3 separate regions of the Homo sapiens genome follow, and regions 2 and 3 are each linked to region 1. Evidence: promoter capture Hi-C in 16 types of primary human blood cells and fetal thymus (Javierre and others, 2016). All regions are on one chromosome and are shown on one strand. Each heading gives the region's core, a stretch centred on a gene start or on the middle of the fragment in contact. The rest is flanking DNA. Distances are from core to core; before and after follow the strand shown.

Evidence for each region. Contacts are between HindIII fragments. The CHiCAGO score rates a contact against its expected background, and 5 or more counts as called.
Region 2: a fragment that was not itself captured here is called in contact with the fragment with the promoter of RPS3A in region 1 in 1 of 17 cell types (non-activated CD4 T cells); the score reaches 7.3 in non-activated CD4 T cells.
Region 3: a fragment that was not itself captured here is called in contact with the fragment with the promoter of RPS3A in region 1 in 5 of 17 cell types (fetal thymus, naive CD4 T cells, naive CD8 T cells and 2 more); the score reaches 11.2 in fetal thymus.

The regions. Positions count from the first base shown.
Region 1 is chr4:151,096,935-151,101,948 of GRCh38, reverse strand. RPS3A (ribosomal protein S3A) reads right to left here and starts at 2,321. Exons shown (of 6, transcript NM_001006.5): 1 at 2,235-2,321; 2 at 1,361-1,464; 3 at 787-974. The coding sequence starts at 2,296. RefSeq lists enhancers at 1,398-1,981, 2,002-2,561, 1,982-2,566, 1,865-3,064, 3,342-3,411. The HindIII fragment of the contact is 1,842 bases long and covers 1,833-3,674 here.
Region 2 is chr4:153,246,253-153,251,266 of GRCh38, reverse strand. All of the region lies in intron 1 of TRIM2 (tripartite motif containing 2), which reads right to left. It overlaps LOC105377496 (a long non-coding RNA gene), which reads left to right and starts at 2,728. Exons shown (of 3, transcript XR_939360.4): 1 at 2,728-2,847; 2 at 4,219-4,453. RefSeq lists an enhancer at 1,536-1,585. The HindIII fragment of the contact is 5,663 bases long and covers 1-4,797 here.
Region 3 is chr4:153,109,801-153,114,814 of GRCh38, reverse strand. No RefSeq gene overlaps it. Among named protein-coding and RNA genes, the nearest start is that of TRIM2, 92 kb to the left of the region's middle. RefSeq lists an enhancer at 2,045-2,544. The HindIII fragment of the contact is 166 bases long and covers 2,594-2,759 here.

The sequences.
Region 1 (5,014 bases), core at 1,072-3,571:
CCAGCCTGGCCAATATGGTGAAACCCTGTCTCTACTAAAAATACAAAAATTAGCTGGGCGTGGTGGCGGGTGCCTGTAATCCCAGCTACTTGGGAGGCTGAGGCATGAGAATCCCTTGAACCCAGGAGGAGGAGGTTGCAGTGAGCAGAGATGGCGCCACTGCACTCCAGCCCGGACGATAAGAGACTCAATCTCCCAAAAACAAAAAACTCCCACAAAATATTCCAACTGGATAGTTAGCCAGACACATCTGAAATATTTTCATTTCATCCTCACAATTCAATAAAATGACACTCTTATCTGCACTTTACAAATAAAGAAACCGAGGCTTAGAAAACAAGTTACTTTCCAACGAGAACACAATAGGCAAATGGAGCCCAGATTTTAACCTCACTCCAGAGGCTCTGCCACAATTATGCTCTACTGCCACAGTTAATCAACATTCACTCAATTCTGAGGTCAAAAAACATCCTTAAGACAGGCAAAACCGCCCACCTGCACCTAAACGTTCCTCAAAAAACCACTAATCTATGCAGCAAGAAAATCTGACTTTGATGATACACCACTATTAAATCTTAGATTTAAATAGTAAGTAAAATATGGTGTGGCAACCCCAGAGTTAGCACTCAACAACGGCAAGAAAACAAAAATTTAAAATGAACTTTGTGGACATTTCACTGGTCTCAATAAATAAATAAAATGAACTTGCTCCTTCCAGTCATCAAACCATGCTATCCTTGGTCAAACACCCATAGCACAACCACTCTAAGGAACTTTGGGTCTCACCTGCCATTTTTTGACCATGGAACACATTTTGTCACGGGTAAGATCCATGCCATGGAAGTTAGTCAGGCAGTTTTTACCCTGAACATCTTCAGTAATCAGCTTGAATTTTCTAAATGCAACTTCATCATTCTGCAAATCAGCAAGACTCACTTCAAACACACGACCCTTGAGACCATCAGATGCAATTTCTACAAAAGAAAAAAACAAGTATCTTAACATTTAGGAACCATATAAGCAAAGTCAAGCCTGTAAACTGAGGGTAGAAATTAAGTTAATGGTAAATTATAAAGACCTTAACCTTTGTTATCAAATCTATCCAGACACCAGTGACTTATCAACAGTACTTATTTGAAGCTCAGAACTACCCATGGCACATTTTCTTAATTCAAAAAGCACCATCTTGCTTCTCTCCAAGTGCTGTACTAAAAATGATCACCACAGGTGCCAAGGCTGCAACCAAGAGCTGACATTTCCTTAAAGTCTCCCACCACAGGACCAACAACAGACCAAGATGCCTGCTACAATATACAAGCGCCAACTTAAGGAAAATACAAACCAAGAATAAGCTACTTACTGGTTCCTTGGGTCCTGGTGACGAGCGTCTTTCCAATATTTCTTATATTGAACATAGCAGGTGCTTTCACATCATACCAATCTTTCTTAGAAAATGGATCAACCCTGGATTTTAAGAAGATGCTTAAGTTCCATTGCAGATCAATTCTTACTGTATTTTTCACTGTTAATGGTATTTCCCATTAATATTTTAAAAAGCTAACCGGCAATTTGATACCAAAGTATATCTCACAGTGAGGTGAGGGGAACAAACATAAATCTAGCTCTTCCCACTGTACGTTTCACTGCATGCATCAGACTTTGAAAGGTTATGTCCACTTCCCACCCTCATCGGTCCATCCACTACACAGGCACTTAGAATAACATGCATCGGTCCTTCCACTACACAGGCACGAGTAACATGCAATCTCATTAACTTTGCTGGCACGTAATGGCATGTACTGGTAACTAAGAGACTGCATGGCCCCAAAGCTTAGCAGGAGCTCGCAGATTCCAGCGGGACCAAGCAAAGGCGAGATTGACGGGTCCTGAATGGATAGAAGGGTGCTTTCCTCAACTCCTGCTGTCGCAGTGCCATCAAACACTCGCAGAATTGAGGCAGCTCGTGAGCCCACAAAACTAACATTCCAGCCGAGTCGCGCCGGCAAGCCGGCTCAAACGCGACGCGCGCAAGGACCAGAAGGCCTGGGAAAGGCAGCCGACCTGCCGCTACTCAACACCGACCCTCCAGGCCGCGTTCCTGGGTGCACCAACCCGCCACGGCCCGCACAATCCGACTGGAATCCTCGCCATCCGGCCTACGCCGCGATCTAGGACCAGCCCGCCGATTCCAGCAGACCCCCAAAAAGCAAGACGCCACGACAGTCGCGACTTACACTTTCTTCTTGGCTCCCTTTTTGCCGCCTTTCGTAAGGCGCTTGTTCTTGCCAACCGCCATGGTGCTGGTCAGAGAGCCAAAAGGGCGGAAGTGGGAGTCGCGCGAGAACTTAGGCGTACGGGGGCGGGGCGCGCCGTCTACGTGACCTTTGCCCTGTTATTCTTCCGGCCTCAAGAATTCCGGGACAGTAGAGAGCGCCACTCTTTCTACTGTGGTTGCGACATCGCCATCGTGTGTGGGGAGGCCGCGCGGCATGCCGCGGGCTCACTGGAGGCTGCGCTGTGTAGACCAAGGCGTCGGTGGCCTGACGTGCAGGCGTCTGGTTACCTGTGGTTTCTGTGGCTGTGACGTCGGGAAGTAAGTTTCTGTAAAACGAGACGCCCACTCAACATCGTTCAAAGCTGAACTCACCGTCTAACCCCCAAACCTGCTTTTTGAGAGCATTGGCTTTGGAGTCAGTCAGCGGATCTGATTCAAATGCCGGTTTCAACAGGGCTTTGCTTGAGACCGACCTCTCCACGCTTGTTTCCTCATGCGTAATATGGGGGTGATAAAACGGTCGGCTTCATGAGGTTTCATAGGGCTAAATGAGCATCACTCCAGAGATGCTAGCGACGTTCTGCTTGTTGATGTGGATGCTGGTTCATCTCAGGTGTTGTTGCTTTGTGAACATTCACTAAGCTCTACGCTTATTTGTGTCCTTTTCTATATGTCTGTTATATATTGATTAAAAGGTTTTTTTAAAATAGAGTGAGACCGAACTCGTTGGCTCACACCTGTAATCCCAGCACTTTAAGAGGCTGAGGCAGGGGAATCAACTGAAGCCAGGAATTGGAGACTAGCCTGGGCCACACAGCCAGACCCCGTCTTTACAAGAAAATGATAAAATTAGCAGGGCGTTGGCCGGGCGCGGTGGCTCACGCCTGTAATCCCAGCACTTTGGGAGGCTGAGGCGGGCGGATCGCCTGAGCTCAGGAGTTCGAGACCAGCCTGGCCAACATAGTGAAACCCCGTCTCTACTAAACATACAAAAAATTAGCCGGGTGGGTGCCTGTAATCCCAGCTACTCGGGAGGCTGAGGCACGAGAATCTGAGCTCAGGAGGCGGAAGTTGCAGTGAGCCGAGATCGCGCCATTGCCTGGCCAACAAGAGTGAAACTGCGTCAAAAAAAAAAAAGTGAGATCTCCAAATGTTTCCATTTTTGCAACTAATCCAAACCCGCCTCCCCCATTTTTTTTAACTGTAGGGGTTAACAGAGCACATCCTGGCAAGGTGTGGCTGGCTAGCTCAAGTGTGCAGCCCTCGGAAAGCATCTGGCCCATACAGGCTTGGTACTCAGCCAGTGGTGTGTTGAGTTCCCTTCTCTAACTTCCCCTCTGGCAGAAAACCCTGTGACCAAGCCAAAACCAACCCTTACTTACAAGGCCCCCTGCAAGCTTTTAAACTTACAATCCCTTCCAGTCCTGCTAGCCTCCATCCCCTACCTCCCACTACACCCACCCCCCAAGACAACCTTCCTAAACCTCTAGTAGGGTCCTGAAATCTTTCAGTAATTCCATAAATCTCAGTTGCCTGGAGGATAAATTCAAAGTCTTAGTTTCATAATAGTATGAATGTACTTAACACTACTGAACTCTACACTTAAAAAAGGTTAAGGTAGCCCTGCCAGGTGTCTCAGGCCGCTAGTTCCAGGTATTCGGAAGGCAGAGGCAGGAGGATCACTTGAGGCTAGGAGTAGGACTCCAGCCTGGGCAACATAGTGAGACCCCATCTCTTTTTTAAAAAGATGATTAAGATGGTTAATTTGGCCAGGTGGTGGCTCATGCCTGTAATCTCAGCACTTTAAGAGGCCAAGGCAGGAGGTTTTCTTGAGCTCAGGAGTTTGATACCAGCCTGGGCAACATTACAAGACCTAATCTCAACTAAAAATAAAAAAAAATTAGCCCGGCTTGATAGCTCATGCCTGTAGTCCCAACTACTCGGAAGGCTGAGGTAGGAGGATCCCCAGCACTTTGGGAGGCCAAGGCAGATGGATCACTTGAGGCCAGGAGTTCGAGACCAGCCTGGACAACATGGTGAAACCCCGTCTCTACTAAAAATACAAAAATTAGCTGGGCGTGGTAGTGCACACCTGTAGTCTCAGCTACTCGGGAGGCTGAGGTACGAGAATCGCTTGAACCTGGGAAGTGGAGGCTGCAGTGAGCCGAAATCACACCACTGCACTCCAGCCTGGGCTGGACAGAGTGAAACTCCATCTAAAAAAAAAAAATATATATATATATATATATATGTATGTATATGTATATATTATGGGCCCCCAGTCTGCCTACTCCAGCATAAAAACCAAACTTACCTTCTTCCTGGTCTGATTCCTCTTTCTGCCCAAGAGTGAAAGCCACAGGGAGAGACCTTAATGAAGTCAGCTGCATCTAATTTATTTTAGCAGCACCAGCACCTAAGGGATTTGTCAGAGGTCTGTATTTCAATCCTCAACTTTGTTTTGTAGTAAAAGCTTTAAAAATTTTCTATTAATATTTTTCTGACCCTTTACATTAAATGGTGCAATCAGCAGTTTTAATGTAATTGTGTTGAATAAAAGTTAGGGGGTGTGAAATTAGTTTATTGGGTCTCAACCATCATTTAATATTTTCAGATAGAATAAAATGGAACAGGCCAGGCACGGTGGTTCACGCCTCAGCATTTTGGGAGGCTGAGACGAGTGAATCTTTTGAGCTCAAGAGTTGGAGACCAGCCTGGACAACATGGCAAAAAACGCTG
Region 2 (5,014 bases), core at 717-3,216, 2.1 Mb before region 1:
CCCTTCCTCTCTACTGGCAGTAGCCCTGGTGAGGCCTCCTATGTTTAGGGGTTGGGATCATTCATTAGTGGCTGTGGGGGAGGTTTTAAGGACAAACAGGACTGTCAGGAAGTAATGGTGAATGAAGCAGAAAGGACTTTCTCTTAAGCATCCTTAAAAGAGAAAAGGTGCAAGTTGGCCTTAACCTATTGGGGTTATGTGGATAGGAGTAGATTAATTGGGAACCAGCTGACCCAGTTCCAACCCAAGAATTCACACCAGAAGTGGCCTGGCCTTCAGATGACCCTTTAATGTTATACATTGCACAAGTGATTGTGTGCCAGGTGGTATACAAGGCACTGGTGACAAAAAAATAAATGACACAAACAGAACCTCTCAAAATCACTCCTGGGGACTGAGTTATCTGCCTTCAGCTCAGAGTCTCAAGGATCAGGATAGCCCTTTGCAGCCGGGCTGTATTTGCAGTAAAGGTGACCCAGGTCAAGCACCCCTGACTCCCTGCCCAGTATGTTTCCCACAGGGAGCTGCCCCAAACTGAAGACATATCCAGGTGGGATCTGCCCAGCACAGAGCAGAGCAAGACCATCACTTTGCTTGCTCCAGGCTCTATCCTTCTATTAATTACCTCTGAGGTCCTGGCACTTTTCTCATATTGACTCATATTGGACATAAATTCATGCCCAGCAACCCTATCCAAGGAGGAATTTTGGTTGGTCTGGTATCATTTATTCTTATGGAACTCAGGATGCTTTTTTTTCTAGGTACTAACAAACCATCCCATTAATATTCCTTCTCTAGCATTACTCTTGATAGGGAGTTCTGTAGTTTTGTAGAAAAGACTGAAGTAGGCCTGGTGTGGTGGCTCACGCCTGTAATCCCAGCACTTTTGGAGGCCAAGGTGGGCAGATCCCTTGAGATCAGGCGCTCGAGACCAGCCTGGTCAACATGGCAAAACCCCGTCACTACTAAAAATACATAAATTAGCCAGGCATGGTGGCGCGTGCCTGTAGTCCCAGCTACTTGGGAGGCTGAGGCAGGAGAATCACTTGAACCCAAGAAGCTGAGGTTGTAGTAAGCTGAGATGGGGCCTCTGTACTCCAGTCTGGGTGACAGAGTGAGGCCCTGTCTTTAAAAAAGAAAAGAAAAGAAAAAAAAAAAGACAAGCAAAACACAAGGCTCTGCCATGCACTGATTATTAAATGCCCAAGTAATAACATGTCTACTCCTTCATTATTCTTTGTCCTGCTCTGACTGTAACAAAAAGCAAAAGCACGCAAACACAAAGCTCTTTTGTTTCGCCCATTGCTTGGCCTCGAGAATTCAAAGTTGACTCTATCTATCTTGAGTATACCCGGAATGTAATCTCCCGGTGCTAACTATGGGTTCCTGATTGCATCCGTGTCCACATCGATGTGCACATCGGTATCAAGTATTGTTTTTCTCTTAAGCAGAGCTCCATTACCACACTTCTCATTTTAACAATTAAATTCAAGGCGGTGTCAAGTTCCTGCTTGCCTCACCAGTTTACCTTGTTTAATTAATGCAGTGGTTTTGACTACAGGGCTGGGATTTAAGAGTTCGGGAGTCTCCGTGGGCGACTGAGCTGGTGGAGGCTGAACAGAGGCCCCCAGGGCCGGGGCGGGAGCAGGGAGGTGGCCGAGGCGGGAGCAGGGAGGTGGCCGAGGCGGACGCGCTGCTAATAATGCCTGCCTCTTCCACACATGCTTTCCTCTCGGTCCCAGATAGTGGATTACTTTTAGACCAACATGTAATTCAGAGAGAACCTCGCAAATGTTCCTCTCTACTGACCAAATCACCCGACCTCTACGATTCCATCCTGCGGTCATAACCACCGACCTGGGGAAATCTCAGACAGCCCCGGCCACGCATGCCAGGCGGAGCCCTAGGGGCTTTCACCCCGCAGGCTCTGCCGGGGCCCGGGCTCCATAGCAACAGGCCCCGCCCCGAGGCGGGAGCCGAGCTGCGCTCAGGCGGAAGAAAAGAAGGCGGGTCCCCTCCACCCAGATGGCGATTGCGCGCCGGTATTCCGAACCTCTGTCTTTCCCCCACCCCCTCTAGGTTTCCTTTTCTAACCTTTTTGTCTCACCAGGAAATAGAACCACTTTGTAAAAGAACTGATTCAAGTGGTGGCGATGTGGGGAAGAGGAGGGAGTAAGGCCCGCGGTGACAGCATTAAAAGCTGGGAGCCCTGGGGATCGCCCCCGCCTGGCCCTCCAGCAACAGGAGTTCTCCCGACTGTGGCCTTTTCCCGTGTCCGGGGTCCACAGCTCTTTGCCTGCTAACCCTGGAGGGTTCTAAGCCGATGCGCCCATGCTGGGGGTGGGACTTTCTCCGAGTAACATGCTTGGGTTTCCATGCTTTGAAACCTGGAGGTGACACTGAAGTAGGAGCCTGGGCACCTTGGCAGAGGGAGCTAATCAGAGGACAGGGGAATCTGACACCATCCTCAGAAGGCTGCCCCTCCAACATGTTACCAGAAGAGTATTTTCCTAAGCAACCTGCCTGGCACTACAACTCAGGGTCACTTTCATCCACGATTAGAATCCTATGATGAAAGTCAGAATGCATCTGCGATTAAGGCACGGGCTCTGGAGACATATCTGGATTTGCTTTATCTGCAGGTTGCTCCTTGCCTGTCTGTTAGCTCGTTTGTAAAATGCTACCTCCTAATGCCATTGTGATGATTAAATGATCCAGTGTGTCACTGTCAGCCCCATGCCTAACACACAGTAAGTCTCAGGTGCGGTAGTGGAGAAGAGGATGGGCTCTAGAGCCAAGAATGGGTTTGGATCCTGGCTCTGCCACTTACAAGTTGTATAACCCTGGGTAAGTAATTTAACCTGTATTCCTCAATTACCTCAAGTGTACGGGGGATGACAAGGGTACTGACTACATAGCGTTGTTAGGAGAAGGAAATGGTTTGTTTAGTCTATGTAAAGAACCTGATCTAGGCCGGGTGCGGTGGCTCACGCCTGTAATCTCAGCACTTTGGGAGGCTGAGACAGGTGGATCACCTGAGCTCAGGAGTTCAAGACTAGCCTGGCCAACATGGTGAAACCCTGTCTCTATTAAAAGTATAAAAATTAGCCGGGCATGGTGGCAGGCGCCTGTAATCCCAGCTATTCAGGAGGCTGAAGCACAAGAATCGCTTGAATCCCAGAGGCGGACGCGCCAGTGAGCAGAGACTGTGTCACCGCACTCCAGCCTGGGGGACAGAGCGAGACTCCATCTCAAAAAAAAAAAAAAAAAACACATGATCCAATGCCTGATGCATCATAAGCAGTCAGAACATAAATTATTACTATCATTATTATGGCCACTACTAGATTTATGAGTTCCTTTAGAAATGACTGATAATTCACTTTTTTTACTCCTGGAGCTGGGCTCATTTAAGGATTCAGTAAGCATTTGTGGGGTTTTTTTGGGCATATGAATAGTTTAATAAAACACTACACTTCATCACCTTTTCATAAGCCAAATAAAATACATCAATAAATGATAGCGAGCAGAATCATGCAAAATCAGAAGAGATATGCCTATACAGTTTTTTTTTTTTTTTTTTTTTTTTGAGACAGAGTCTCACTCTGTTTCCCAGGCTGGAGTGTGGTGGCGCTATCTCAGCTCACAGCAACCTCAGCCTCCTGGGTGCAAGCAATTCTCCTGCCTCAGCCTCCTGAGTAGCTGGGATTACAGGCATGTGCCACCATGTCCAGCTAATTTTTTTGTATTTTTAGTAGAGACGGGGTTTTGGCATGTTGGCCAGGCTGATCTCAAACTCCTGACCTTAAATGATCTGCCTGCCTCGGCCTCCCGAAGTGCTGGGACTACAGGCGTGAGTGACCGCGCCTGGTGCCTAAACACTTTTATCACACCAGGCTGGACACAGCCTCCCTCTGCATCCTCACCCACTTAGCACTGGTGTCTCCCTGCTGTTTTTGACACAGCTGAGAGGCTGCAGTGCTACTTTGTTACTCTTGCTGAGGTCTCACACTAACTCTAGTCCCAGGCCAGTCCCAGGAAGGAAGAGAGTCTGTTCATGCCTACCTGCCACTGGTTCTCATGAGAAAGAAACCTGGACTTTTGTGCTGGTCAGCGGCCTGTGGAAATGAGTCCTCAGTGGCCAGCATCTCTCCCTTAGAGCCAGCAGCCTTCTTAAAAAGATCAGAAGAGAAATGATTCCTTTTGGTCCCCTTCCAGCGTCAGTTTTGCCCTTTGATGTAAGTCATCGTCTCTGGACATGAGAACGGGAGGCCTCACTTCCACATCCTCCTCCAAATGAATGCACTCTAAACAAACATTGATGCGCCTCTCAAGGTTGGCATTGCATCTGGACCAGTGCCAGGAAGCCACAAGGCCACCAGAGGCAGAGGGGAAGAGCAAGGGCGGAAGAATAGAAGTCAAGCAGCAGCAGATGGAATGTGTGCACGGTCAGGTGAGGCCTGACCCGAGGGTGTTGTGAGCCCTTGGTCAGGGTGAGCCCAGTGCCAAGCAGAGCCATCCATGACCTTAGGGCCAATGCTAGGCACCCTGACTCTTCCTTGATAATGTCTCTCATCCTCTATTCTTCCTCCCCCTTTCTCCCACCCTCTTTCCTACTCCCTATCCACTTCATTCAACAGATTTTTAACTTAGCTTCTACTATGTGCTAGGCACTGTGTTAGGAGCCACAGATAGTCACTATCCTTAAGGAATGTACACATTCTCATAACAGAGACAGATACTAAATCTCAAATAATAAACTAAATTAAATTACTTGAAATAGAAGTTAATTAAGCTTCAGACAATTAACAATTTTTATCTGTGGCCTCTACTTCAGACCCACCTAGGAAATACAGGCATGTTGGTGTTCTGTGGTGGATAAGAATCCAGGCTCTGGAATCAGACAAATGTGGGTACAAATCCCAGCTCTGATACTGCCCAACAGTGTGATTTTGGCCAAATTACACCACCTCTCTTACCCTCCTTTTCTTCATCTGTAAAAAGTAAAAGAGAT
Region 3 (5,014 bases), core at 1,427-3,926, 2.0 Mb before region 1:
GTGAGATGGTGGCACCATTTTCTGAGGACCGATGGAGGGAACCAGTTGGGTGGTGGGGAGGGGGTTGGGGAGATCAAGGGTGACATTTAGGAAATGTTAAATTTCAGATGCCCCTGAAATACCTAAAGAAGTCACCAAGGAAGGATACGGAGGGCTTAAGAGTCTAGATTCAAATGAAAAAATAAATTTGGAATTCATCAGCAAATGGATGGTGTTTAAAGCTAAGAATGAAAAATACATCGACAGAGAAGAATAAGAGGTTGTATCTAGAGGTCAGGGAGAGGGCGACCTAGTGAGGAAGGTTGATTAGAAGTGTCTGGTGGGATAAGAGAAAAATCTATTTGCTGTATCATGGGCAATGAGAGAGGAGAGGGGTCTAAGAAGAGGGGGTGGGCAGTTGTGTTTCACCTTACAGCCTTCTCCTCTGTCAATTTCTTTCTTCTAGGTGTTTTTATAATAGACAAAGTTGGGTTTGACAGCATGGAGCTTATCGATGCCCTTGACACAGAGGTCACTGACACCCTTGACAAAAGGAGTTTCGGGGGAGTGGAGAAGCCAGAAGCCAGACTGGAGGAGACTGAAGAGTAGGTGAAGAAGCAGAAGGAAGGATGGGTGAAGCCAAGATGTTAGTGTGCAGACCGCTTGTGGGAGAAGTTTTGCTATGAAACAGGATGGGGAAAGGGAGGGAACACTGAGAGTCTGTCGAGCCACAGAAAGACTTCTTCTAATGAGAGATTCCAGCACGTCTTTGTGTGTGAGTGGAAATGATTCAGTGGAGAGAAGATCGAGGGTGCAGGAGGAGATAACTGGAGGAAGGAAGTCCTCCTTCATTCAACCAACACCAAGAGCTTCCCATGCCAGGCATCGTTTGGGTGTGAGCCACAGAGCACCAAGTGGCCTGGGCAAGGCTGCCTCTCTCAAGAGCGCCTGTGCTGGAGTGAGTTCAGGTCGGGGAGCAGGGTGCTTGGGGTGTGACAAGACAGATGTAGCTGTGAGTCTACCTGTGCATTTGGAGATGAGAAGAGAATTGCGCTCCCCTCTGATATGTGTATTTACTCAGCTCCATGTGGGGCAGGTCATGCATTCACCATGGGAGATGTGAAGAGAGAGATGCTGCCGGGGAAAGTCAACTCACAATGGAAATGGACAGAGTAGCTAAGCAGTGCCCATTAGAGGTTTGTGGCCATGAACTTAAAGTGAAACCAGTCAGCCCGACAGTGTGACTTTTCCTGTTGTGGTCAGCTGTGCATCCAAGTCAATACTAGAATCAGCCAAGGTTGAGGTTTTGCAGGATAAGTATGACTTAGAGAAGAGAGAAGCAAGGGGTTGAGGAATTCTGCCAGGGAGAGGTTGTAATGAGGCAACTTGCAGTCTGAGCTGAGTAAGGAGGGCAACAATGAGGGAAGGAATGACAGAAAACGCACAGGCAGGGACGTCAGTGAATGAGAGCCCTTGGGCTAGAGTCCTAGAGCACAAGAGAGCTGGGAGGATGTCTGAGATCGATAATTTAAAGGTGGCTGAGATGCTTGTTATGACAAGGTCTACGGTGTGACCATGAGACTAGAGTGGCTCAGGTGGGAAACAGGATAAGGCACTGAGTTCAGTTGAATGGTGGGCTCCAAAAAGATATGTCAGTGTCCTGGAACTTGCGACCCTGTGACTATAATTTTATTTGGAAAAAGAGTCTTGGCAGATATAATTCAATTAAAGATCAATGGATGAGATCATCCTGGATTAGCCATGTGGGCCCTAAATCCAGTAAGTGTCCTTGTAATAGAAAGAAGGGGAGACAGACACACAGACACAGGAGAAGACCAAGTGAAGAGATTGGAGTTACACAGTCACAGGCCAAGGAACCACCAGAAGCTGGAAGAGGCCAGGAAGAGTTCGCCCAAAGCCTCCAGAGGCACTGTGGCCCTGTCCATGCCTTGATTTTGGATTTCCAGCCTCTAGATCTGTGAGATAATCAATTTCTGTTATGCTAAGCCACCGATTTGAAGCAATTTGTTTCAGCGGCCCTAGGGAACTGCTACTGAGACTTAGAAGCTCTAGTGTTGGTCAGCTCCTCCATACGGATGTAAAAATCAGAGGAAATGTGGAGGAGAAGGTAGTGAGGCAGAACTAGAGTTTTTAATGAATGGGATAATCAGAGGTTGGTAAGGACCATCATGAGGAAAGGCAGGATGTGGTGGAGCTGAATGGCACAGCTTCACATAAGCTGTGGGTTCTAGAGAAAAAAGAGAGAGATGTAATTTGGAAATGGCAGTAGGGGTGGGGGCTCCAAGGTGACCAGAGTCCCAGGGAACAGTTGGCCTTCAGTCCACACAGACACCAGGGCCAAGCAAGGAAGGGGCCGAAGAGGTGGGAGCATGCGGACCACAGCAGGGCTGGGTGTGGTGAGAAGGGGCTATGCTCCACGGGGTGGGGGCATGGAGAGAGCAGAGCGGAGCAGGGTGTGGGGACAGCTGGATGGAAGCTATAGGACCTCTCCTGGGACCCCGCCAGTAGGCACGTGAGGCCTGCTGCACCCAGTTCTTCTGTCCTGAGAGGGCTGCGGGCCATGTGCAGGAGCTGTGCTTCCTGGCACTAAGCTTGATTGTTGGCCTTTGAAGACTGCTCCCTCTGACAGCTGATGACGCCTTTTGGGCCACCACAGGCTTTCCCGGCACACCTGCATGCGGGTGCCTCGGGACTGCTCCAGCTCACAGCTGTCTTTACAGCTTCCAATACTGCCCTAAGGGCAGAGCTAAACTAAAGCTTTGGAGCTCGTTTGTCTAGATTGATGCCCAGATTATATCTCAGGATTTATATTAATGCATGTCTAACAATAAGCAATCTGTTAAATAAATTACAATACATTCATATGATGGGAGGCTATGCGACCATTACAAATTATGCGGTTGAAAACCACGGGAAAATGCTCACAACAGATAGTGTCTTGGTTTGTTTGGGCAGCTGCCATGACACCGTGCCATAAACATGGGGGCTTATAAACAAATTTATTTTTCACAGTTTTGGAAGGGGTGGGGGCCAAGATCAAGGTGTCGGCTGATTCAGTGTCTAGTGAGGACCTTTTTCCTGGTTCACAGGTGACACCTTCTCCCTGTGTCCTCACCTGGTAGAAGGGGCCAGGGGTTCTCCAGGGCCTCCTCTCGAGGGACACTAAACCCATGCTTGAGAGCTCTGCCCTCATGACCTAATCACCGCCCAGTAGCACCCACTCCTAATACCACCACCTTGGGGGTTAGGTTTCAACATATGAATGTGGCGGGGACGCAAACATTCTGACTATAGCAGGTAGTTAAGTGCAAAAATCCTACCAGATGATCCCAACCCAGCTAACTAATGAACAAACGTTTATCCACAGGCATACAGACACCTGGAAATAGACTATACATGAAAAGAACAACAGTCCTGTGTGGATACGAGTAAGGGAAATCTGTATGTTCCTCCTACTTTACTGTATTTTCCAAAAGGATGATGAATGTCTGTCACTTTCATGATCTGAAGAAAAAAAGGAAGAAAATTGGTCCTAACGCACTTCTCAAATACTTGTTTCCCCTCTCTCTGATAGGAGTATTTGGAGAGATTCTCATGGTTGCCTCTGGCTCCCAGTAGGTGTGAGACCCCATTCCCCTCCAGCTCAGCCTTCTCATCTCCCAGCTCCCTTCCCACTCCTGCGCTCTGCCCTGCTCAAGGCAGGTGCCTCTCCAATGTGAGCCCTAACTGTCCCTGCAACACCGAATCCAAGGATCTGGGCTTGGAATGACTGTGTGCTCATCTGGCCCAACCTGGGTCAGTGAATCATTTCTACAATGTCCTAGACGAGTGACCTCCTGGACAAGGTCTGTTGCCTTTTGGGTGTGACACCCACCACGTGTGCAGCTTTTTTTTTTTTTCTTCTAAGACTTCCGGCCTTCACCTGGTGCCTTTAAGGGTGTCCAGGGCACTCTGCCATCATTCCTCTGGCTGCTCCTCAGTGGGTGGCGCAGTGACCCACTGGGCCCTCCCTTCCTTCCCAGCACCCTCCACTCCTCTCCAGCTCCCCCATCTCCTCTTGATCCCTGGCCTCAGATGCCCTTTCTGGCACTTCCCCTGTTCTTGGGTCTCAGCCGGTATTAACTTGTCTTGCTCCCTTGGGTTCATCCTTAGTGTCCGGTTCCTTCTGCTCCATCCTACCCCCCACAGGATGCCCCAGCCTCTCTTGGACTCTTTGGGACTGTCTATTTCACCTCCTCCCTGATTGGTCTTTGGAATCAGAGAGATGACCAGGGAAGATTTGGAGAGAAAACTTCTTTTTTTGTGGGGGGACGGAGTCTCGCTCTGTCGCCCAGGCTGGAGTGCAGTGACGCAGTTTCGGCTCACTGCAAGCTACACCTCCCGGGTTCACGCCATTCTCCTGCCTCAGCCTCCCGTGTAGCTGGGACTACAGGCACCTGCCACCACACCCGGCTTATTTTTTGTATTTTTAGTAGAGATGGGGTTTCACCGTGTTAGTCAACTTCTTATGTTGCTCCAGGAATTTGCATTCAGTTCAAACCGACCTACCTTAAAAACTTTTTAAATCTTAATTGGTTTCAAGCCATTTATAAATATGTTTGCATGTTATCTCTGCTTTTTGTAACTTTTATTTTCAGTTCAGGGATATATGCGTAGGTAGTTATGTAGCTAAACTTGTGTCACAGGAGTTTGTTGTACAGATTATTTTGTCACCCAGGTACTAAGAGTAGTACCCAATAGCTGTTTTTTCTGCTCCTCTCCCTTCTCTCACCCTCCACCCTCAAGTAGGCCCCAGTGTCTCTTGTTCCTCTCTTTGGGTCCATGTGTTCTCATCATTTAGCTCCCACTTAGAAGTGAGAACATGTAGTATTTGGTTTTCTGTTCTTGCGTTAGTTTGCTAAGGATAATGGCTTCCAGCTCCATCTATGTTCCTGCAAAGAACATGATCTCATTCTTTGTTATGGCTGCATAGTACGCCACGGTGTATATGTACCGCATTTTCTTTATCCAGCCT